Regions from separate parts of the Homo sapiens genome. Here all the other regions are linked to region 2. The links are contacts of gene promoters, found by promoter capture Hi-C in blood cells and fetal thymus (Javierre and others, 2016). All regions are on one chromosome and are shown on one strand. The core of a region is centred on a gene start or on the middle of the fragment in contact, and the rest is flanking DNA. Distances in the headings are between cores, read along the strand shown.

Region 1 (3,051 bases), core at 304-2,803, 270 kb before region 2:
TTTTCCAGAGGGTTGTTGCTGAAATTATATGAACAAGTGCACATGAAAGGGCCAAGAAAAGTGCATCACACGTGGAAGACATAAAATAAATGTTACATGAAAATGAATTGTATAGGCTGACTACATGCATTAATACTTATACATGATAAGGACCAGCCAACGCTTACCTAAAAATTTAGCTCTCAGGTGGTCCTTTGATTTTCAGTTCGGGGCCACGCAAAGCAAATCCTCCCATACCCTAAATACACCTCATGTGGCATCAAACAAGAAAGTATATGTCCAGGTTTAAGGATCAGGATTTTTTAAACTATCTGTTTTTTTTAAATGAGGGCTTAAAAACCTTGGACTTCTCTCTTCCCAGAAATTGAGCAACATTATTAATTGATGACTATTTCTGTTTAAATTAAATTTCAAATGCAGAGTCATTAGCTATTTTATCTCCTTAATGTCACACCTGATAGAAGCAGTCAAACTTTTTTTTTTAATTTTACTTTAAGTCAGTCAAACTTTTAGAAGAAGACATACATATCTTTAAAGGGTCATTTCCTAAAAAGCTTTTGAGATCATTTCACATCATAAAATGATCACGTAAAGCCAAATATTTCCTTAGTTTTTTTTTTATTTAAAAAACATTTTTTATCATTCTCAGTATTCAAACAAATATTTCATCCTTACAAGTCTTAAGATCTCTGTGGAAGGTTAGTATAACAACCAGAAAACCTTCTGTTTTGAGAAAAAATGTATGTTTAGTCATTTTGGATTATAATAATGGGACTCTCTTCTCTGAAACACATCAAAAATATTTCACAAGTCATAATGGTTCTGTGGTTATGTTGAAGAAAAAGGAACTCCCTATCTTTTAAAGACCCATACTGAAATGTTTGTGGATGAAATAATGTGATAACTGGGATTACTTTATAATACTAAGGGCGCCAGGAGCAGCGGTTCACACCTGTAATCCCTACACTTTGGGAGGCCGAGGTGGGAATATCGCTTGAGCCTGGGAGTTTGAGACCAGCCTGTGCAACATAGGGAGACTCTGTCTCTACAAAAAAGAAACAAATTAGCTGGGTATGGTGGTGTGTACCTGTAGTCCTAGCTACTTGGGAGGCTGAGGTGGGAGGATAGCTTGAGTCCAGGAGGTTAAGCCTGCAGTGAGCCATGACCACGCCACTGCACTTCAGCCTGGGTGACAGAGTAATACCCTATCTCAAAAAACAAAAAAAATGATAACAAAACAAAATAATAAGGGATGGCATAGTGGATAGAGAAGAAACAAAATTAGCCACGAATTGATCATGTTGAAGCCAGGTGATGGATACATGAAATTTCATTTTGCAAGTATCTCTATTTTACTATTTGTTTGAAATTCACCCAAAGTTTAACAAAATTCACATAGAAACTGCTTATTTGCTACTTAAAGAATACAAAAGTAGAATGTACACTGATGCACATATATTGTTAGAATGTACTTATGAGTGATAACCTGCAGATTGGAGACTCCATAGACAGACTCATGGCTCCTTAGAAAGAATGATTGTGGGTGGAGCAGACCCAAGGAGGAAAAGCAGAGTCCAGGCTTAGACTGCAGCTTCTCGCTTACCTGTGCAGTCTAATTTTGAGCGGCCTCTTTGTAGTTAAGAGACAGGAGCTCCCATTCTCTCTCTACTAACCCAAAAGTCTTGTGTGTACTCCTTGCCTTGGCTCAGCTCCAAACACATTTCTACACCGATAACAAGAAATATGCTGTAAATGATGTTTCCTTCTCAATCCCTGCCGCCTCTGAATTTGCTGACCTTAGTAACATCATCAATAAATTACTAAAGGACAAAAATGAGTTCCACAAACATATGGAGTTTTATTTCCTTATTAAGGGCCAGTTTCTGCGAATGTCCTTGGTCAAACACATGGAACTGGAGAACATGTCATCAGAAGTAGTTGTGGAAATAGAATATGTGAAGTACACAGCACCCCAGCCAGAGCAATGCATGTTCCATGATGACTGGATCCTTTCAGTTAAAGGGGCAAAGGAATGGATCTTGACTGGTTCTTATGATAAGACCTCTCAAATCCGGTCCTTGGAAAGAAAGTCAATAATGACAATTGTTGGACATAGGGATGTCTTAAAAGATGTGGCCTGGGCCAAAAAAAAAGATAGTTTGTCTTGCTTATTTGTGAGTGCCTCTATGGATCCAACTATTCTCTTATGGGAGTGGAATAGAGAGAAACAAAGTGAAAGCCCGACCGTGCTGCAGAGGTCATGCTGGAAGTGCAGAGTCTATAGCTGTTGATAGCTCAGGAACTAAATTTTGTAGTGGCTCCTGGGATAAGATGCTAAAGATCTGGTCTACAGTCCCTACAGAAGAAGAAGATGAAATGGAGGAATCCACAAATCGACAGAGAACACAGAGCAGCTATGACTCCCATAGTGACCCTCTCTGGTCACAAGGAAGCAATTTCCTCAGTTCTGTGGTCAGATGCTGAAGAAATCTGCAGTGCATCTTGGGACCATACAATTAGAGTGTAGGATGTTGAGTCTGACAGTCTGAAGGCAAGCTTTGACAGGAAATAAAGTGCTTAATTGTATTTCCCATTCTCCAACTTTGTAAACGTTTAGCATCTGGAAGCACAGATAGGCATACCAGACTGTGGGATCCCCGAACTAAAGACCATTCTTTGGTGTCACTGTCCCTAACTTCAAATACAGGTTGCGTGACATTAGTAAAATGGTCTCCTACCCATGAACAGCAACTGATTTCAGGATCTTTAGATAACATTGTCAAGTTGTGGGATACAAGAAGTTGTATGATCTGGCTGCTCATGAAGACAAAGTTCTGAGTGTAGACTGGATAGGGACACAGGGCTACTTTTCAGTGGACAAGCAGACAATAAATTGTATTCCTACAGATATTCACCTACCACTTTCCATGTGGGGGCATGAAAGTGAATGATAAATTGATCATAGAGATTCTTTATACAAATGAACTTGGTAGAAAATCATGAAATTATACTGATGCAGATGCAGAAAGCAGCCGTTTGAAATTTATATAA
Region 2 (3,431 bases), core at 53-2,552:
AAAAAAAATTCTGGTACTCACAGGGGACAATACCTATGAATGCCCTTTTCATAGGCACACAGTGACTAAAATATTTGGGGCATGAATTCTCTAGGGGTGACAATAATAAGTGTCATTTTTCATGCTTCTGTTGCACACATAATTATATTTATCTCTAAGGAAAATCAGAGAGTGGGGTGTGGCCTCCCTCAGTGCCACCTGGGCCAGTTGTCTCCCCACATCACCAAATCTGTTATTTCACAGGCTCTAGGACACCCATAGAGGGGGAGTGAGGGACCTGGTATGGTCCCGTGAAGAGCTCTTGTAACACTACTGATTGATGTGACAGACACAGTATGTGTGCAACTTTCCTTTTTCCTTCAAAAGCACTGGTCTAAAGCAGGGATCCCCAACCCCTGGGCAGCAGACAGGTACAGGTTTGTGGCCTATTAGGAACAGGCCACACAGCAGGTGAGCAGGGCTAGAGGATTATGCCTGAGCTCCAGCTCCTGTCAGATGAGCAAAGGCATTAGATTCTCATAGGAGCACAGACCTGATTATGAACTGCGCATGTGAGGGATCTAAATTGCGCCTTCTCAAGAGAATCTAATGCCTGATGATCTGAGATAGAAGAGTGTCATCCCATCTTGCCCCCCACCCCAAACTGTCTTCCATGAAACTGATCCCTGGTGCCAAAAAGGTTGGGGACTGCTGGAAGTGCTTGTCCCCTGGGTTAAAGCCAAGAGGAGTAAACAGGATTAAGGGGCGTGGATGTGGGTGGGTGGGGGAAGAGAGCTTTCTCAGGATCGGCAACCAATCCCAGAATCTCCAGTCGCAGGAGCATGTATGTGAAGGTTTATTTGCAGGGATCCACCGTTTGTAAAATAGTACACGCTTAATAAAATTAATTTTGAGGTCAATCTTAACTGACAGATCTCTTCTTTCTTACTGGCGAGTATTTGTAAAATAAGAAAAACAGGAGGAAAAGAGAACAAACAAGAGAGATGTGGGATGACGGAGTAAGGAAAGGAGTCACGGAGAGGAGAGACAATGTCTGTGGCTGTTCCCTCAGCGTCTGGGAGAAGAGCCCAAGAATCCCATTGAACTGAGGGGGAGGAAAGGCCCTCCTGCGGCCTACCGCAAGGAAACGATCGCGGCAGACCCGGGACTAGCGCCAAAGGGCTTGGAAGGGCGGCGTTAAGAAAAATGGGCCGTACCTACAACTTCTTTCGCAGCCCTCGCTGGCCCGGGAGCGGCCCAGGAGCCCAGTGACCGTTGCGTAAGCCACGCGCCACCCAGGTGGGCAGGGTGGTGACGCGAAAGCCCGGATAGACTTCCGCGCAGGGGCGGGGCGGGGCGAGGAGGCGGCAGCGCGTTTAAGTGACGTCTTGGCTGTCCGCGCCGGCAGAGGCGAGGGTTCTGGGGTTTCTGGGACTGTCTGGTGTGTTTTCTGTCTATTGAACCCTTTCCTTTCGACGTCTCTTCTGAATATTGACTCATCGGGTTGTAGAAATCCAGGGACAGAGTTGACATCACTGGGCATTTTAGCCAAAAAGCAGTGCTCGGGACTGCATGTGCCAGAAGTAAACTTGTCAAAACTCAGATTGTGTTTCCCCTAAAGTCAGCTTAAAGTGCAATGGTAGAAGAGCACGGTCTCTCCCCAAGACGGCCTGAGCTTAAACTGCAGCGCTGTCACTTGCTAGCTATGGGACCTAGGCAAATACATCGTCTCCCTGAGGTTGTCTTCTCATCTGTAAAGGACGCTGTGGTGGTGGTGTGAGAATAAATGAGACATGGCAAGTGTCTGGAACAAAGACGCTGTGTACAAAGTAAACACTTAATATACTGTTATCAGTATAAAACCTTTGTGAGTTTTTTTTTTTTTTCCGCATGAAATCTTATGTGGAAAGTTGTATGTGAAAGAAATGAAAGCGGAGCTGCGTTGATGGTGGGCCCAGAAGCTTTGGCCTTTCAGTCCCAAAGTTTCCAGTAATAGAATCCGCGCTTCCTATAAAAGACAAAAACAACTGTTATTGGAGAAAGTGTAAACTTCTTAGAAAGACAAACTGCCCTTTCCTATCTAATGTTTCTCCTGACACTCAATGTTTACTCTTGAACACTGTATTCCTTTTTGCCTCAGTGCGTTCTGTAAAGTTAATTCCTCTACCGGAGTGTTCTTTTTCTTAGTCATCATCTAAGATCTGATCCAAATTACCGTTCCTTCTTGGGTAACTTAAATACGAAATTATCTTTTTATTGGTTTTGTTGACGTTGTTGAGACAGGGTCTCACTCTATTACCCCGGCTGGAGTGCAGTGCGATCTAGGCTCCCTGCAGCCTCCTCCTCCTTGGTTCAAGCGATCCTCCTGCCTCCTGAGTAGCTGGGACTACAGGTGGGCACCACTACCCCCGGCTAATTTTTGTATTTTTAGTAGAGAGGAGTTTCACATATTGCCCAGGAGGACTTGAACTCCTGGACTTAAGTGATCTGCCCGTCTTGGCTTCCCACAGTACTGGGATTACAAGCGTGAGCCACCACAGCCCTGCCCTTTTTATTGTTTTTAACACCTTCCCTCCTTCAACGTGTTATAGACATCTCAGCAAGGATTTATTTTTCTTCCTCGTTTCAGGAGAGTAGACAGGGTTTCATGATTATAGGGTTAAGGAAATGTTTTGTACTCATGAAAAGGAAATGTTTTGTACTCACAGGAAAAGCAGGTAGATCCCTAAAGATAATGGGAGTTGGGACAAATGGTAAACCTGGGAAGGAAGACCTTTGCTAGGAGTCTGTTTGCCTCCAAGGCACTACTCTTATGCTCTAGAAGGAATGGGCTCCTGGAGAGGTAAGTGCTTTAGGGTCCATGTAAGGAAGATGGAGCGCACATCAACAAATGGAGTTTTGGAATTCTCACCAGGCCAGAGGGCTCAGGCTGGATTTGAGTCAGTCAACTATAAATATAATATTACGTACTCCCCAAATGCCATGAAGCAATTCCCACTTGTTACAGAGAGGTACATAAATGATTCATATAAAAATATAATGTTCTGAGACATTAAAAAAATACAGTGGTTCTTTGGGAGACAATATAATGAAAATTTACTAATAAAAAACATTTAAACAATCATCTGATAACCTTTCTTATAAAAATTAAGTTTTAAAAATAAGTAAATTGATTATATTTGCAACAAAGTCATGGAAAGCAAAAGCTTTTGAGGAATAAGGAGAATCTTAACTGAGAGCAATTTTTTAAAACTATACATGACATGATAAAAAAAGTTTTAACACTTTCTACATAGTTTCATACTTCTGAAAGTACTTCAATAAAAATATTTAGCCAATGATCTATTTAGTATGATTTCAGTGCCAACTTTCTTTTCTAGTCTTATCTCTAATTCTCTTCATCAATCTCAAGTGCCAATCACTTTCTATGCTCCAGGCTTTACTGTTTTCAA
Region 3 (3,017 bases), core at 419-2,918, 350 kb before region 2:
AGCTCATCTGGGCTGGCCCTACATAAAGACAAAAGGATCCACTTGTGTTATGTTTGCACTGGACAGATTCAGACATGTCCCTTCTTCTAATACACTAGGACATGTGCCCCAGTAGAGAGCAATTAAATTCCTCTGAGAATGGCAGAGTGAGTCAATGGTCAAGAAAAATTCTTTTGGAACATGTTTTGGCAATGTTACCTCATTGATATTTATAGGTTCACCTTCGCTGTGATGCATGATTACACTGATTGCCCCCCACTGATGCTCTCAATGTGTTCTCCATTCAAGAAGCTCAGAAACTCACATAGATGAAATAGAGATGCACTGAAGGTATATTAAAGAGATATATTTCATTTTTAAAAAAATTAAGTCTTGTGTTTTTCTCAGCCAGCCATATAAACACTATTTCCTTTTTTTGTCTTTGTACATGCCCAAGAAAGGGACAGCTGCTACCAACTGTGACTGACATATTTATGCCACTGATGAAAATACAAATATAAATCCTGAAGTGGCAAAAAGCTTCAGTAGCACCGTGTTACACACAACCCTCAAGCTGACTTAGAGTTTTATGGTAAGCTTTACTTTAAAATTTTAACAAACTTTGCATGCAATGGCTCTCCTTATCTTTAATAATGCATCAAAGAACTGAAGATACATAAATGTTAGATTTTAATTATTTATACGAAAGAAAACTAAAAATAAAACTGAAATGCTTGCAACCTGTGTAACTACAATTAATATGTTTACAGTTATTCATTCATCCATTCATCTATCCACTTTGTGAATAATCCACAGAGTGGGGACGCAGAGGGGAATGAGTCCTAGGCCTCAGGGAGATGACAATCTTGCAGAGGTGACAAATCCTTGAACAAGTAATTCAAAGTGTGATGTGTGTCTCAAAAGGCAAAAGATTTTTCCCATGCTTAAGGTAAGAGGGGCCAAAGGAGAACAAAGGAGGTGGCTCACAAGGGCAGTGGATGGGGAAGATGTTCCAGGACATAGACAGCAAGATGGAGATGGTGCCTGAACAGGTGCAGACACCAGCTGGCCGGAGTCCCGCATTAAGAGGATCTTACACCTTACCCAGAGGTCAAGAAGCCACCTCAGGGGAAGTGTTGGCTAGGGAAGGAGTTCGATTGTACTTTTTAAACCTTTTATTTTAAAATGAAACACAGTTACAGAAAACAAATTATGACACGGTCAATTATCATAAGGCAATCACCCTTGTAGCCACCACCCAGTGCAGCCAGGCCGGAAGCCATCCACGTGCCTCTTCCTAATCACAGCCCCTTCCTCCTTCCAAAAGTAACCACTATCTAGAGTATCATAGTGTAATAGAAATCGCTTCCTTGCATTTCTGTATGGTTTTTCACAAAATATACATCTGCAGACACTATAATATGAACTCTAGATTTTAACACACTTGATGGATTCAATTCATTGACATCCTTATCTTTATTGAATCTCAAATTGTCCCCCTTTTGGTTGTTCAGAGTCTCTCAAAATCCTTTTGACATAACTTTGATAGCTTCCTTGTTATCTGCATGTTGAGATATTCCAGGATCAGGGTTCTGAGCAGGAATGTGGTATGACTTAAAATGTGTCAGTGGAAGATGACTTTGGCAGCTCTGTTGAGTATGCACATATTGAAAGAGACCAATGCTAGGGAGTCCAATCAGAAAACAAATGCAATGATTGAGGAGAGGGAAAAATAGGATTTGAATTAGAGTAGTAAGCACGGGGGTGAGAAAGTAAATACAAATACTAGTAACATTGATATCAAAAAATTGTCTCAACTTAAAACCAGATGGATGTGGGAGGTGAGAAAGAAGAAAGTATCAATGACTTTCATATTTCCTGCTAAAAAGAAAAATCTTGAAAGAGTGCACTGGGGAAAAGATAATAGATGTACTTTGAAGACACGCTGAGTTAGTGTGACAGCTGCTATTATTTGTTATTTCTTTTGAACTGCATGACTTACACGTATTATCCTATTTAATTTTTGAAACAGTTTCATGAGGAGTGACATCATACTAGAGTTATAGATACAGAAATTGAGGCTCAAGAGGTAAAGTGACCTCCCTAAGGTTGCAGACTCACCATTCAAGAAGAAATATCAAAATATTTGTTCTTTGTATATCAACATTACAAAAAATCTGGCAGACAGTTGGACATGAGAAATTGAAATCAGAGTCAATAATTATCCACATTGTAGCTTTACCTGAGGTTACCGAGAAAATGGATTTGTTTCCTTCTTTAACATGTTGCAGAGCACTATAAAAACTCAATATGTCTCCACAGTCTTGCAAACTCTTTACAAGGTAGGGGTGATCTCCTGGTGCAGTGATCATTTCCAATGGATGCTAATGAATCAGTCCGATGTTTCAGTAGTATTTTACTAGCATATGATACACTCACAAGTTGGTTTCTAAACTGTATTTTGGGAGTACATCATAATTCAGAATTTTCATGTATTGACAAGCATCCCACTCTGATTCTACATGGAAACCCATGCCATGCACTTAATATTTAGGGGAGAGGAAATATAATGCAATCTGTGTTTCAAAGCATGATCATCCCCTAAACAGACCTTGCTGCAAAAATAAGTATATTCAGCACACAGCTCATAAACCTCAGATCTGTGGCTAAAATTATCAGTTGATAATATTATATTAACACCATTGCCATTTGTGAAAAGAAGATATCCAGGATCATTTTATATATTTCCTGTGCCAGACCTGGAGTCGGCCATTTCTCTAAGAAGCTTTTCTCTTAACAGGAAAGATTACTTCAATATAAGAATACTCAACACTACAACGTTGGGCATTATTTCTAGATCTTTTCAGTAGGCAGAGAAAGCATATAATCACTTCCTTGCATTTATATATCTGTGAATATAAATATAAATGTCAATATGTGGAATCTAAAATAAATCAAGGAATCAATAATCAATTTAAACTTTCTCCTGAGCAATTCAAACAGTGGTGTTGCTGTTTGCTGAGATGGAGAAAACTTCA
Region 4 (3,248 bases), core at 119-2,618, 320 kb before region 2:
CCGCTGTTAGTCTGATGGGCTTCCCTTTGTGGGTAACCTGACCTTTCTCTCTGGCTGCCCTTAACATTTTTTCCTTCATTTCAACTTTGGTGAATCTGACAATTATGTGTCTTGGAGTTGCTCTTCTCGAGGAGTATCTTTGTGGCGTTCTCTGTATTTCCTGAATCTGAATGTTGGCCTGCCTTGCTAGATTGGCAAAGTTCTCCTGGATAATATCCTGCAGAGTGTTTTCCAACTTGGTTCCATTCTCCCCGTCACTTTCAGGTACACCAGTCAGACGTAGATTTGGTCTTTTCACATAGTCCCATATTTCTTGGAGGCTTTGTTCGTTTCTTTTTATTCTTTTTTCTCTAAACTTCCCTTCTCGCTTCATTTCATTCATTTCATCTTCCATCACTGATACCCTTTCTTCCAGTTGATCGCATCGGCTCCTGAGGCTTCTGCATTCTTCACGTAGTTCTCGAGCCTTGGTTTTCAGCTCCATCAGCTCCTTTAAGCACTTCTCTGTATTGGTTATTCTAGTTATACATTCGTCTAAATTCTTTTCAAAGTTTTTAACTTCTTTGCCTTTGGTTTGAATTTCCTCCTGTAGCTCGTAGTTTGATCGCCTGAAGCCTTCTTCTCTCAACTTGTCAAAGTCATTCTCCGTCCAGCTTTGTTCCATTACTGGTGAGGAGCTGCGTTCCTTTGGAGGAGGAGAGGTGCTCTGCTTTTTAGAGTTTCCAGTTTTTCTGCTCTGTTTTTTCCCAATCTTTGCGGTTTTATCTACTTTTGGTCTTTGATGATGGTGATGTACAGATGGGTTTTTGGTGTGGATGTCCTTTCTGTTTGTTAGTTTTCCTTCTAACAGACAGGACCCTCAGCTGCAGGTCTGTTGGAGTTTGCTAGAGGTCCACTCCAGACCCTGTAGAAACCACTATTTTTAAGGACTAAGAATACAGAAAAGAAACATAGATATATACATATATATAAGTAAATGAATTCACAAGAATTTCACGTTAATTTTTAAATGTTTAATAGCCTTCTTTCTGTCATACACAAGTTAGGGAACTATGGTTGGTCCTTTGATCTTCAGGAGTAAACTCACTAATTTTAAGTCAAGATATAAATTGAACACTTGAAAAAGCACAAAGATGACAGTATCTCTTTCTAGCCTCAACAGGGGGAAGGCAGAAAGTGTCCCATAGACAAATTAGTTTAGGCTTTCATATCAAGTTAGCTGAAGTTACTAGACTAAATTAGTTTGTTTTAATAACTACTTTATCCACTTACTGCATATACATATATATAACAGATGCCCAATATAGAAATTTAGAAAAGACAGTTACACAGAAGAATAAAATGCAAACCATTTTTAACACTACTACAGAGATAGCTACTGTTTGCATTAGTTGTTGTTTGTTTACTTGTTTGTTTGTTTTTGAGACAGGGTCTTGCTTTGTCACCCAGGCCAGAATACAGTGGAATAATCATAGCTCGCTGCAGCCTTGACCTCCCAGGCTCAAGTAATCCTCCTGAAACTGCCTTTGCAAAGTTATAACTGAGGAAATTATGACAATGAAAGAAATCAGACCTAATCTACTCCATCTTGCTTGTAACATTTAAGCTGTTCTTATTCATTCCTGGCAGTAGGCTGAACTAACTTTGGGAAGGAATTCAGTTCATGGTTTGACTCTGAAACAAAATGGATAGCAGCCCTTTCCCGAAAAGACCCCTTCTTGCCTGGGGACGAGTCTGCCTTTGCAGGACTAACAAATTAGCTACAAGATTAGAAATTACAGTTTAGGGGTCATGCAACCTCTGGCTCCAAGAGTCTGAACCTCCCCAAATTGCTCCTGGGGATAACATCACTATTGTAAAACCTAGATCAGTGCTTGAGATATTCTGCAGACCCTGCACTGGATGGATCAGCTGACACCACCCAGACTGGTAATCTGGCTCAACCAGTTCTGCCATCCCACTCAGGAAAGAAGACAGCAAGAAAACCTTACTTCGTTCCCCCTATGATTCCATCTCCAACCTGATCAATCAGCACTCCCCACTTTGCAAGCCCCTACCCACCAGATTATCTTTAAAAACTCTGATCCCACCCAGCATGGTGGCTCACGCCTGTAATCCCAGCACTCTGGGAGGCTGAGGCGGGTGGATCACAAGGTCAGGAGATCAAGACCATCCCCACTAACACAGTGAAACCCCATCTCTACCAAAAATACAAAAAATAAGCCAGGCGTGGTGTCGAACACCTGTAGTACCAGCTACTCGGGAGGCTAAGGCAGGAGAATCACTTGAACCTGGGAGGTGGAGGTTGCAGTGAGCCAAGATCGCGCCACTGCACTCCAGCCTGGGTAACAGAGCAAAACTCTATCTCGAAAAAAAAAAACCAAAAAATTTGATCCCAAATGCTGAACGTCTGGGGAGACTGATTTGAGTAATAATAAAACTCTGGTTTCTCACACAGCCAGCTCTGCCTGAATTACTCTTTCTCCGTTGCAATTCCCCTGTCTTGATAAATCAGCTCTGTCTAGGCAGCAGGCAAGGTGAATTTATTGGGCGGTTATAATCCCACCTCAGCCTCCGAATACTTGGGACTACAGGCATATACCACCACACATGGCTAATTTTTTTTATTTTTTGTAGAGACAATGTCTGCTCAGGCTGGTTCAAACTTCTGGCCTCAAGTGATCCTTTGAACTTGGTCTCCCAAAGCGCTAAAGATTACAAGCATGAGCCACCACGCCCAGCCTTGCATTAGTTTTGACCCACCTCATTTCACACTTAAATTTTAAAAATGAATACATTTTATTTTAAATAAAAATTATATGTACCTTTTTTTATTATGAACTAAGCTTTTTTAAAAATTTTCAGTAACTCTCACAGTGCCTGCCTCATAGTATATACCAAATAAATACATAAAAGTATCCAGACCACATTAGCTTATTCTTTTATTATTTTTCAATGTTTAAACGTCTATTGATATCAGTGATAACTGCTGTCTTCCAGATAAAAATTGAAAAAAAAAATTCTGGAGAAACTCCTAAAGGTAGAACTCTTTTAATGCTCTCATGAGCTTACACTCTAATTTTATTACATCAAACAACCAAATTGATAACTATAAAATTAATTAGAAATATAGGAATTACTGCTTAACATGCACAAAGCACATCTTCTTAACAGGAAACATATATTTCTCTATGTTAAGTACAAAATATATTACTGTCATAATATTTCAAAAATGAGGGAGGAGCTTC
Region 5 (3,468 bases), core at 48-2,547, 370 kb before region 2:
GCCATTCTGCTGGGTGTGTAGGGGTATACTGGTATGGCTTTAATTTGCATGTTCTTGATTTACAACAAGATTGGGCACATTTTCAGATATTTATTGACGCTTTGGATATCTTCTTTAGTGAAGCTCCAGTTCAAGATTTTTGTCCATTTTTAAATAGATTGTCTGACTTTTTCTTATTGCTTTATTCTGGATACAAATCTTTTTATCAAATATATGAATTAAAACTATTGGTCCCCAATTTGTGGCTTGCCTTTTCTCTCTCTTAATGGTGTTTTTTATACTTAATGGTGTCCATAATTTCAATGGAGTATAATTTATCAATACTTTCTTTTCTAGTTAGTGCTTTTTATGTTCTATATAAAAACTCTCACCTATCCCAAAATCATGAAGCTATTCCATGTTTTCTCGAAGCTTTATTGTAGTACCTTTCACATTTGAGTCTTCAGTCATTGGTCAAATGAAGTTTCTAAAATTTATTATTATTTTTTAGAGATAGGGTTCTTGACATTTTGCCCAGGCTGGTCTCAAACTCCTAGGCTCAATCAATCCTCCCACCTCAGCCTCCCAAGTAGTTGGGACTACAGGTGTGTGCCACCATGCTCAACAATCAAATTAACTTGTATATGGAGTCAAGTTCATTTCTTTTCCCATAAAGGTATCCACGTGATTCACCACTGTTTATTGATAAAATGATTGTTCTCATACTCAATTGTGGTGGCATCACAGCCATAAATCAGGTGTCCATATTATACAGTGATCTGTTTCTGGACTCTATTGTGTTCCATTGTTCTATTTTATCCTTGGGAAATGGCACTGTCTTAATTACTAAACCTTTAGAGCAATCTTGAAGTAGAGAATATTTTCATACACAATTTATTTCAGAATTTTGTGAGCTGTTTTTGTAAGAGAGGCAAATGCCAAAAATGAACTATTTCATGTCCTATGTGTCATCATATATGTTCTTTGAAGAAAATAAATTCCTTAACCAGTGGAATGAAAACCTGAATATTTTTCACCATATATGGCCTACAAAATCTACATAATCTCTTACATTAATTGCAGGAACCTGTTCAATTCTAGAATGAAAACAACTTACCTGAGTAAGGTAGATGGTATCTTTAAATGTGCGTAATGGATCTGTGCTTTGGGGGAGTTTGAAATGAAGTCCAGCCTGATAAAGCATTTGTTTGTTACCACCTTCGTGATGTTGTCGATGAAGTGAAAACTTGCTATTGAAAGACCAGTCCTCTGTAGACGAGACCTTTCAAATAAAGAATAAGAATTAGAAATCTGAAAGTTGGCAGTAAAACTACTTTTCTATAAGTTCCTGACAAACCTGGAAAGTATCCTAAACACTAGAGAAGACCTTGAGGTTTGTTCTGTGGCTCCAGTTTCATAAATGTTTTACCATCCTACTTGTTGCCAGTGAAGGACTAGCCTTGTGGAAACTGGAATCACAAAACCAGGGTTTGGTACATATATCCTCCCTTCCTCCAACTAAGAAAGTTATATTTTGATGTTTCTCTTAAGACTCTTGTTTTATCAAAACATATTCCTGGTTTTTGAAACATCCACTATATGTATTTTTAAATATCATTTTATCTACTTAGGTAAACATTTTATCTAGTATTCGTTTGTCAAAACTTAATAGAATGCAATCAACACTGTTAAAACTGTCACAATTCTTAAATAGGAATAAAACACCTATTACACTATAATAGGGATACTATGAGAGTAGATGCTTTAGCACTTACACTGTTCACTTGTTTCTCAGTGATTACTAAATGAAACTGATATACATATGTTTAATTTTTATATAGTTGAAGACACAAACCAAATAATGTTACTTCTCTCCCCTAAAAAATCAATTTTTTATGGTTTAAGCCAGGCCCAAATTATAGGATCTTTATTTTATCCCCTAACTTACAGGATCTTTCTTTTGTCGTCAGCTCAAATTAAAAAACAAAGTAAAAAAAACTCACATATGTTGGAGTATACCTTCTACAAAAAAAGAGAAAAAAGCAATAATTCTGGCTTCTAGGCCTATAATTTAATGCACTGTTAGCATTTAAGAAAGAAGACAATTGCTGGCTACATCTGAAAATATCCAGAGTTTTAATTCAAGTTACACAGACTTTGAAAAAACATACTCTGCCCCTCCACCCAAAAACCTGAAAATTAAAAAAGCTTAATCCCTGTTCATAAAGTATGACTTTTCATTCCCAGTAATCAAGCAACACATGGGCCCATTACCTTAAAAGGAAAAGGTTATCCTTCAGGAACTGATTCATACCCAAATATAAGAAATGTACACTAGCCATATTAAATTTGGAAGTTTTTCCTAATTACAGATGTTTTTCCAAAATGCCACCACCAGAATTAAATAATGCTAACTACTCCTATTATGTATTTAAAGGAGAGATTCACATTGACAATCATCTCGCACACTTTTTAGACACACATCCTTTATCAATAGTCTTCCTACGCTTCCTCCTCTTAATTTATTTTATTTATGTTTATTATTTTTAATTGACACAATAAGTGTACACATTTATGGGGTACCATGTTATAATTTGATACATGTATACAATGTATAAGGATCAAATCAGGCTAATAAGCAAATTCATCACCTCAAACATTTATCATTTCTTTGTGTCGGGAACACTCAAAATTATCTCTTCTAGCTATTTGAAAATATACAATAAATTATTATTAACTATAGTTACCCCAAAGTGCTATAGAACACCAGAACTTATTCTTCCCATCTAGCTATACTTTTGTATCAATTAACCAACTCTATTGTCCCTCCCTGGCAACCCTTCCACCCTCTAGTAATCATTATTCCACTCTACTTCTTTGAGCTGAACTTTTTTAGCTTTCACATTGGAGTGTCCTTCCTCCTTTTCAAAGTCTGAAATATACCTTTGGGCCATGCAGCCTTCTTATTTGTAATAATTTGAATCTATCCCATAATCAGTAAACCTGATCTTTAGTTACGTGGGAGGCTTTCTACCTTCTCATAACTATGGTGTGAAAATCTTTCAAATTTCAGCTATAATAATATTACCAGAAAGAACTGGAAATGGCCAGGCAAAGTTCTAATTACTTTAAGAATATTAACTTTTTTTAAAAAAAGAATATTAACTTATTTGGTACTCATAAAAACCCGGCCGGATGCAGTGTTTCACACCTGTAATCCCAGCACTTTGGGAGGCTGAGGTGGGAGGATTGCTTGAGCCCAGGAGTTCAAGACCAGCCTGGACAACGTAGTGAGACCCCATCTCTACAAAAAGAAAAATAAAAAATCAGCCTGGTGTGGTGGCACATGCCTGTAGTCCCAGCTACTTGGGAGGCTAAAGTGGGATGATTGCTTGAGCCCACGAGTTTGAGGCTGCAGTGAGTTGTGATCACGCCACTGCACTCCAGCCTGGGTGACACAGCTAGACCCTCTCTCAAAACAAAAAACAA
Region 6 (3,376 bases), core at 865-3,364, 330 kb before region 2:
TCTCTCAAGTGTCTGCATTCTTTTCATGATTCCATACATTTCTGCTGTATGGGCTGCATTCAAAATCTGTAACTTCCCCAGGACCTTTTGTCTGAGTCAGATATGCTGCTGTCTCCTGATATACTCAGTTAAAAAAAAAAAAAATCCTAAACACGTTTCTAAGCTCAGTGGAAGAGGAGAGGCATGAAACAAAGATATAAAACTGAAGCAAGATGGATTTCAATGAGGTATATTTAAAACAGAATTATTTTTGCATAAAGCAAGCCCAGGGTAACAATAAACAAGAGCAATAGAGGTGAAATAAGGAGGGGCTGGTGATGAGAAAACAGTGTTCAATGTCCTGTCTGACACAGTACCAAGTGCTGGCGAGCATGAGGAGCCTAGGCAAGTCTCATATAACCACTTTGGATGGCAGTTTAGCATAATCTACAAAGCTGAACTCATGCATCCTCCATAATCATGCCATTCCACTCCCAGCAGACATGCCGTTGGGGGCATATGTGCTCCGAGTGTTATATCAGTAATGTTCACAGCAGCATTACTTGGAATAGCCAAAACTGGCAACTACTCAAATTGCAACAGCAAAATGTGTAGTATAATAAAATTTTATACAACTTAAATAGACAAACTTACAGTTACACAGAACAATAAACAGCAGTCCCCCCTTATCTGCAGGGGATACGCTCCAAGACCCCCAGTAGGTGCCTGAAACTGCAGATAGTACCGAACCCCATATATACTATGACTTTTTCTGTCTGATAAAGGAGAAGGCTGCTGAGTGACTAACAGGTGGATAATGTATACAGCAAGGATATGCTCAACAAAGCGATGATTCATGTCCTGGACAAGACAGGGCAGGACAGCACGAGATGCCATCATGCTACACAGAACAGTGAGCAATTTAAAACTCATGAATTGCTTATTTCTGGAGTTTTCCATTTACTATTTTCAGACCACAGTTGACCATGGGTAACTGAAACCACAGATAAGGAGGCACTACTGTACCTAAATGTCAAAAACATAATGCTGAGCCAAATTAGCCACACACTAAAAAATACATGCTATATGGTTCCATGTACATAAAATTCAAAAAGAGACAAAAGTAACCTAGTGATGGATGTCAGGATAGTGGATCTTCGGGAAGGAAACAGGGGTCATTACTGGGGAGGCTCGCAGAAGGGAGGGGAGAGTTTGAGGTGTGAAGTGCTAGTAATTAATGTTCTGTTTCTTGAACATGTTGACAGTTACCTGAGTGTTCATTTTCTCATAATTCATTAAGCTTTTCACTTATGGCTTGTGTATTTTTCTGTATGTGTCATATTTCACAATAAATAAAAAATAAAATGTTGTTTGACCAAAACTCCCTAGCTTTCTTTCTCAGGCTTACTTTTTCACCCTAAAACTCCACTGACAAAAGTGTTTGCCAGTCTTATAGAAAGAAAATATACTTTAAATGGTCCTAGAGACCTTCAAAATTACCTCCATCCTCAAGCTGCATCCTTTCCTCCCATGTGTTATCTTTCACCACTATTACAACGAAAACAGAGCCCCCCATCCCAAAGTGAATCCATCCTCTTCTTATCTCCTACCTCCCAGAGACCTTGCCCTCTCAACTACCTCCCTGCTTTCTAACTCTTTTTAGTCTTTCCCTCGCTACTGGCCCCTTTCCATCAGGATTTTGCTGTTGCTTTCCATTCTCTTAATGGTATCCTTTTCTATGTTGAAATCATTGCAAACTTGTAATAAAGTTCCAACAATAATACAAAGAACTCCTATATATAATACAAAGAATCCAGAGACCCCCCCATTCAAGTTTTCATCAGTTGCCCCAATAACATTATGACAAAAAAGATCACTGCACTGCACCCAGTTCGTACATAGTCTCTTCCACTGTAGGACAGTTCCTCAATCTTTCCTTGACATTTTTGAAGATTATAGTAGATTGAAGACTGAAGACTGAAGACTGAAGGCCCTTGTGTCCTTTCAATGTGTCACATTATTATTGAGTACCTCCTTACTTCCTGGAACAGCAAGATATTTCAGGCTCCAGCTCGAGAATCAGTCATTTCTCCAAAGAGCCCTGATTGCTTTCAGCACAGAGTGGTATTCCAAATCAACATATGGGTCCTAAATCTACTCACTGCTACTAGAGAGCCACTCTTCCCAGGCGCTCTGAGAAAGGATTAGGAAATGTGTGAAAAGAACTAGGAAATGTGTGTGTGTGTGTGTGTGTCTACCCACACATACACATGCATTTACAAAGACATTTATTTCTCTGTCTACACATACTGAAAATCATAACTTCATACTATTAGCTCCAATTTGAATCCACTGTAGCTTTCCCCCCTTCTATGTTGATACCACCTTTCTCCATTCATGAAAAGGCTGGCTTCCACCACTTCAATATATTTACTTATTTGTTCAGTTGCCTATGTGAAGCCAATCTGATCCCAACTGGCCACCATTACCACCTGGTCTAAGCATAGTTTCCAATCAGACGCTTTCAGAAGAGTTGCCTATATTCACCGTCTTTACTTCCATACCTTGAGTCATTCCTCAACCCACTACAATTTGATTTCCATGCTGATCAAGGTGACCAGTAATCTCCTTGCCACCAAATCTAAAGAATCTTTCTCAATTCTTTTCTAACTTGAACTCCCTTGCAGCATTCAACACTCTGAACATTCTTTGCTTCTTAAAACACTCTTTCCCTCTGGTTTCTGTGACTCCCCACTCAAATTGGTTTTCCCTCCACCTCGTCAACCATTCCTTCTTAGATTCTTCTACTGGCTTCTCCCCAAACCCCAACCTTACTAATTATGACTGCCTGGGGTTCTGTCCTAGCTCTTTTCTCTGTGCCATCCCTGAGGTATTTCATCCGCTACCATGGCTACAATTATCTACATTCTGCTAACTTACACATCTATATCCTTAACCCACATGCAATCCCTAAGCTTAAGATCTATCTAATGAAACACCTATCAAATATTATTCCTTGGGTGTCTCTCAATCACCCCACACAAAACACATCTAACACTGAAATAATTTCCACCCAACCCCTTCCCCCAAACCTTCTCTTCTTTCTGAGTAATGTAACTCAATGAACAGAGTTGCCCTGCCTGTTCAGAGGCTGCCTGTTCAGCAGCCCAAACCAGCAGCTGAGGAACCATTCCTAACTCCTTCTTTTTTCCCACCCCCACATCATCAAGCCTGCTGAGGTTATATCCTAAATCTCTTTCAGATTTATTTCCTCAGCAGTTCTGTAGACCAACCAATCCTCATTTTTTGTCTGAATCACCACCACAGTCTTCTAACTGGTCCCCTACTCTTGCCATCCTTCCAATCTGATCTACACAATCTTTGTAAAATATGCATA
Region 7 (3,117 bases), core at 468-2,967, 290 kb before region 2:
CCGGAGGAATTTACAAGAGGGTATAACTTAGATTTATCCACATTTCTCATGACCTTCCCTGTGCCACCTGGAGGGCTGTAAGCAGGGTTTGCTTAGTGTAGCAAGTCGGCAACCTTGCTGTGGCACCTAGATAAGGGTTCAGGAATGCAGCTGCAGAGTATTCGGGGTAAGGGTCAGCTGCACTGCGGGGGCGGTTCCTGGGGCAGCTCGTCCCTAACAGTAACAACATTGATTCTACATCTTATAGATTTTTCTATGAGAAATAAGGCAAGACGTAATTTAGTGCGTCATTGATGTCTAGCTGCTCACTCCCAAAGCCTGACAAGTTGATGCCATTGCTGTCTGAGGCCGCCTCCAGCTCAGTAGTCAGCTCAGTGCTCGTGTGCTTCTTCCGGGCTTGTAATACCTTCATGAACGCTCCTTCTGGATTCCCTACAGATAGATGCTTCTTCAACTGTCAGGTAAGACACAATAAGTCTTTCTGAGTTTCTCTTATAGGGTTTAGCTTGTTAATTTCCTTATACTTTGTCCTCAAACTCAACTATCTTGTTCTTCCTTGCGCCTAGTTACCATAAACAGCCTACCCGCTTCCCGTCAGCTCTAATCAATAACTCACATCTGTTCCCTTGGTTACCTGCACCCCATGTTCCCCTGAAACTGCACATCTCACACGCTCCACCTCTGTCCCCCTCCCCTTCTATATTTAAAAAAATATGTACAAGTAGCCAATTGGGTCAGCTCAAACTGTGCAGTCCAACCCCAGCCCAAGGGGGAGTAGCACAGAGATAGGGACTGCGTTGAGGATAAAAACCCCCTGGTCTCCTTTGTTCTCTGTGCTCTTGCGATCTTGATTGACGCAAGTGGCACCCTTCTGCAGAAGTAAATTGCCTTGCTGAAAGAATTAAAAAAAAAAAAAAGATTGGCTTCCCCTTTTAAAACCAAACACAAAACCACCAGTATCAGCAGAGAATGAAAGACTGAATCTGTGGTGTGTAGCCAGCAGTCTCTCATTGCCCTGTGGTTCTCACTGTGCTGTTTGCGCCACTATCCCAGCCAGCCTCCAGGGGGAATACTTCTCTACTGCCCAAAAGTCAGCACAACTCCCTTCCGCTCATTGGATTCACTTAGCATTTCCAGTTATTTTTCACTTAGCTAAGTGAGCATGAAAAGGATCTCTACAGAGAATACACAGGCAGCAGAGATACTTCAAAACTTATTAACATCAGGTTTCTTATATTATCCTACCTCAGGTCAGCAAACTGCCACCCACAGGCCACATTCAGCTCACTACATGTCTCTGTGTGGCTAGCAAGCTAAGTAAGAATGGACATGTGCCCATAAATAAAGTTTTACTAGAGCACAGCCATGCCCTTTCCTTTGCAATTTACATATGGCTGCTTTGGTGCTATAGTGGCAGAGTTGAGTAGACATGATGGAGACCATCTGGCCCTCGAGGTCTAAAATATTTAGTATTTAGCTATTTACTGAACGTGTTTGCTAACCCCTGCCCAAGATGACTGGCCTCCTAGATGTTCATAGATGTTGCTCCATCTGAGTGTCTAGACCCAAGTCTGCCTCTTCATAAATCCTTAAGTCTTTCTTCTCCTACCCCCTTTCCACTCTTTTTACACTTTTTTTTTTTGAGATGGAGTTTCACTCTTGTTGCCCAGGCTGGAGTGTAATGGCGCAATCCCAGCTCACTGCAACTTCAGCCTCCCAGGTTCAAGCGATTCTCCTGCCTCAGCTTCCCAAGTAGCTGGGATTACAGGCATGCACCACCACACCTGGCTAATTTTTTGTGTGTTTTTAGTAGACATGGGTTTTCACCATGTTGGTCAGGCTGGTCTCGAACTCCTGACCTCAGGTGATCTGCCTGTCTCAGCCTCCCAAAGTGCTGGGATTACAGACATGAGCCACCGCATCTGGACTCTTTCCACTCTTTATCTCCCAGAGGAATACTCAAGACAGGAGGCAGAACAGAAAGTGGCAAACAAATCTTTTCAGTTCATCTATCCATGAACAATATATAGAAGGGAATTGTGCAGGCATGGAGGGGCTTCCCCTCCTTTGTCAGGGACAGATCCAAGTTATTTCCTTAGGGACCGTAACTCCAAGTCAAGAAGGAAAAGCCAACTCTGTCTAAGTTCCACACAGGTAAGAGCCAGATGAACACGTTAGGCTGGCAATGGCCAGTTAGGCAGTTGCCCAGGGCAAATCTGTAAGAAGCACTACAACATCAGTGGGAGTGTATCAAGATCAAGATAGGTATCTGCCAGAAACTGATCCAAACTGGAAGAAATATTTTGATAAGCTACTAGAGGAGAGAGTGACTGATGAGATTTAAAACAACACGTAATCACCAAACTGGCTTTTAAGGTCTGGTTAATGGTAAGGTTTTGTTCTGTTAAATGCCGTGTGCCAAGCCCAGCCAACTTATCTCCCACACAGGACTCGGCCTCTCCAATGAACAAACATGGAACACATATTTACAGACACAGGGTTGAAGAGGCACCTAATTATTAGCATGACCATGTCATTCCCCCAAGACCTATTTATAACTCTACACTGTGGACTTAGTCCAATACAGTTAAAAATATCATGAGAAGGAAGGTGTGAGAGCAATTCAGCCACAACACATCAACACACTAAGCCCGGGGGCTGGCTGATGATCTGGTTGACGGGGCACAAGTCCCCTTCCTTTCTCCCAGCTCCCTGAAGGAATCTGCAAGTTGGTTCAAGAGGGCAATCTTCCCAGATATATTTTTTCGACACAAACATAATTTATAGGTTAAAATTTTATCTTAAAGAGGCCAATCTGAAAAACCTAAATAATGTATGATTTCAACTATATGTCATTCTGGATGTTAAATAAAAATTACAGGAGGCCGTTGTTGACTGAGCTCCTATACTAGGCCTCAGCAGACCAGATCAAACCAAAACAGTCACTCATGCTAAGTACCACTTAATCAAACTGAAACTTTAACGAAGGAGGTAGATCCACAAACAGGGCAGTTTTTCCTGAAAACTTGAGATTCCTGTTCACCTGAGTAAGGAAGTCCTCTCTGCATTTTTTTTTTTTTTTTTTGAAACAGGTCTTGCTCTGCTCTGTCACCCAGG

The links. Contacts are between HindIII fragments. The CHiCAGO score rates a contact against its expected background, and 5 or more counts as called.
Region 1: a fragment that was not itself captured here is called in contact with the fragment with the promoter of SLC9B1 in region 2 in 14 of 17 cell types (M2 macrophages, total B cells, naive B cells and 11 more); the score reaches 11.2 in M2 macrophages.
Region 3: a fragment that was not itself captured here is called in contact with the fragment with the promoter of SLC9B1 in region 2 in 16 of 17 cell types (M2 macrophages, M1 macrophages, neutrophils and 13 more); the score reaches 27.7 in M2 macrophages.
Region 4: a fragment that was not itself captured here is called in contact with the fragment with the promoter of SLC9B1 in region 2 in 10 of 17 cell types (M2 macrophages, M1 macrophages, monocytes and 7 more); the score reaches 10.8 in M2 macrophages.
Region 5: a fragment that was not itself captured here is called in contact with the fragment with the promoter of SLC9B1 in region 2 in 17 of 17 cell types (M2 macrophages, M1 macrophages, M0 macrophages and 14 more); the score reaches 14.3 in M2 macrophages.
Region 6: a contact is called between a fragment that was not itself captured here and the fragment with the promoter of SLC9B1 in region 2, in 15 of 17 cell types (M1 macrophages, M2 macrophages, M0 macrophages and 12 more). The highest score is 19.3, in M1 macrophages.
Region 7: a fragment that was not itself captured here is called in contact with the fragment with the promoter of SLC9B1 in region 2 in 8 of 17 cell types (naive B cells, M2 macrophages, total B cells and 5 more); the score reaches 9.3 in naive B cells.

The regions. Positions count from the first base shown.
Region 1 is chr4:102,749,701-102,752,751 of GRCh38, forward strand. All of the region lies in intron 1 of MANBA (mannosidase beta), which reads right to left. It also overlaps the pseudogene WDR12P1. Among named protein-coding and RNA genes, the nearest start is that of MANBA, 9.7 kb to the right of the region's middle. The HindIII fragment of the contact is 2,002 bases long and covers 553-2,554 here.
Region 2 is chr4:103,018,403-103,021,833 of GRCh38, forward strand. SLC9B1 (solute carrier family 9 member B1) reads right to left here and starts at 1,303. Exons shown (of 12, transcript NM_139173.4): 1 at 1,197-1,303. It also overlaps a transcript of SLC9B2 not described here. RefSeq lists an enhancer at 1,144-1,644. The HindIII fragment of the contact is 6,332 bases long and covers 1-1,938 here.
Region 3 is chr4:102,665,599-102,668,615 of GRCh38, forward strand. The region is part of intron 10 of MANBA (mannosidase beta); the gene reads right to left. Among named protein-coding and RNA genes, the nearest start is that of MANBA, 94 kb to the right of the region's middle. The HindIII fragment of the contact is 2,188 bases long and covers 575-2,762 here.
Region 4 is chr4:102,701,727-102,704,974 of GRCh38, forward strand. All of the region lies in intron 5 of MANBA (mannosidase beta), which reads right to left. Among named protein-coding and RNA genes, the nearest start is that of MANBA, 58 kb to the right of the region's middle. The HindIII fragment of the contact is 2,952 bases long and covers 1-2,844 here.
Region 5 is chr4:102,649,441-102,652,908 of GRCh38, forward strand. MANBA (mannosidase beta) reads right to left here. Exons shown (of 17, transcript NM_005908.4): 13 at 1,097-1,261. Among named protein-coding and RNA genes, the nearest start is that of MANBA, 110 kb to the right of the region's middle. The HindIII fragment of the contact is 1,776 bases long and covers 410-2,185 here.
Region 6 is chr4:102,683,979-102,687,354 of GRCh38, forward strand. All of the region lies in intron 7 of MANBA (mannosidase beta), which reads right to left. Among named protein-coding and RNA genes, the nearest start is that of MANBA, 75 kb to the right of the region's middle. The HindIII fragment of the contact is 1,675 bases long and covers 1,278-2,952 here.
Region 7 is chr4:102,730,283-102,733,399 of GRCh38, forward strand. All of the region lies in intron 1 of MANBA (mannosidase beta), which reads right to left. It also overlaps the pseudogene LRRC37A15P. Among named protein-coding and RNA genes, the nearest start is that of MANBA, 29 kb to the right of the region's middle. RefSeq lists an enhancer at 1-194. The HindIII fragment of the contact is 8,823 bases long and covers 1-3,117 here.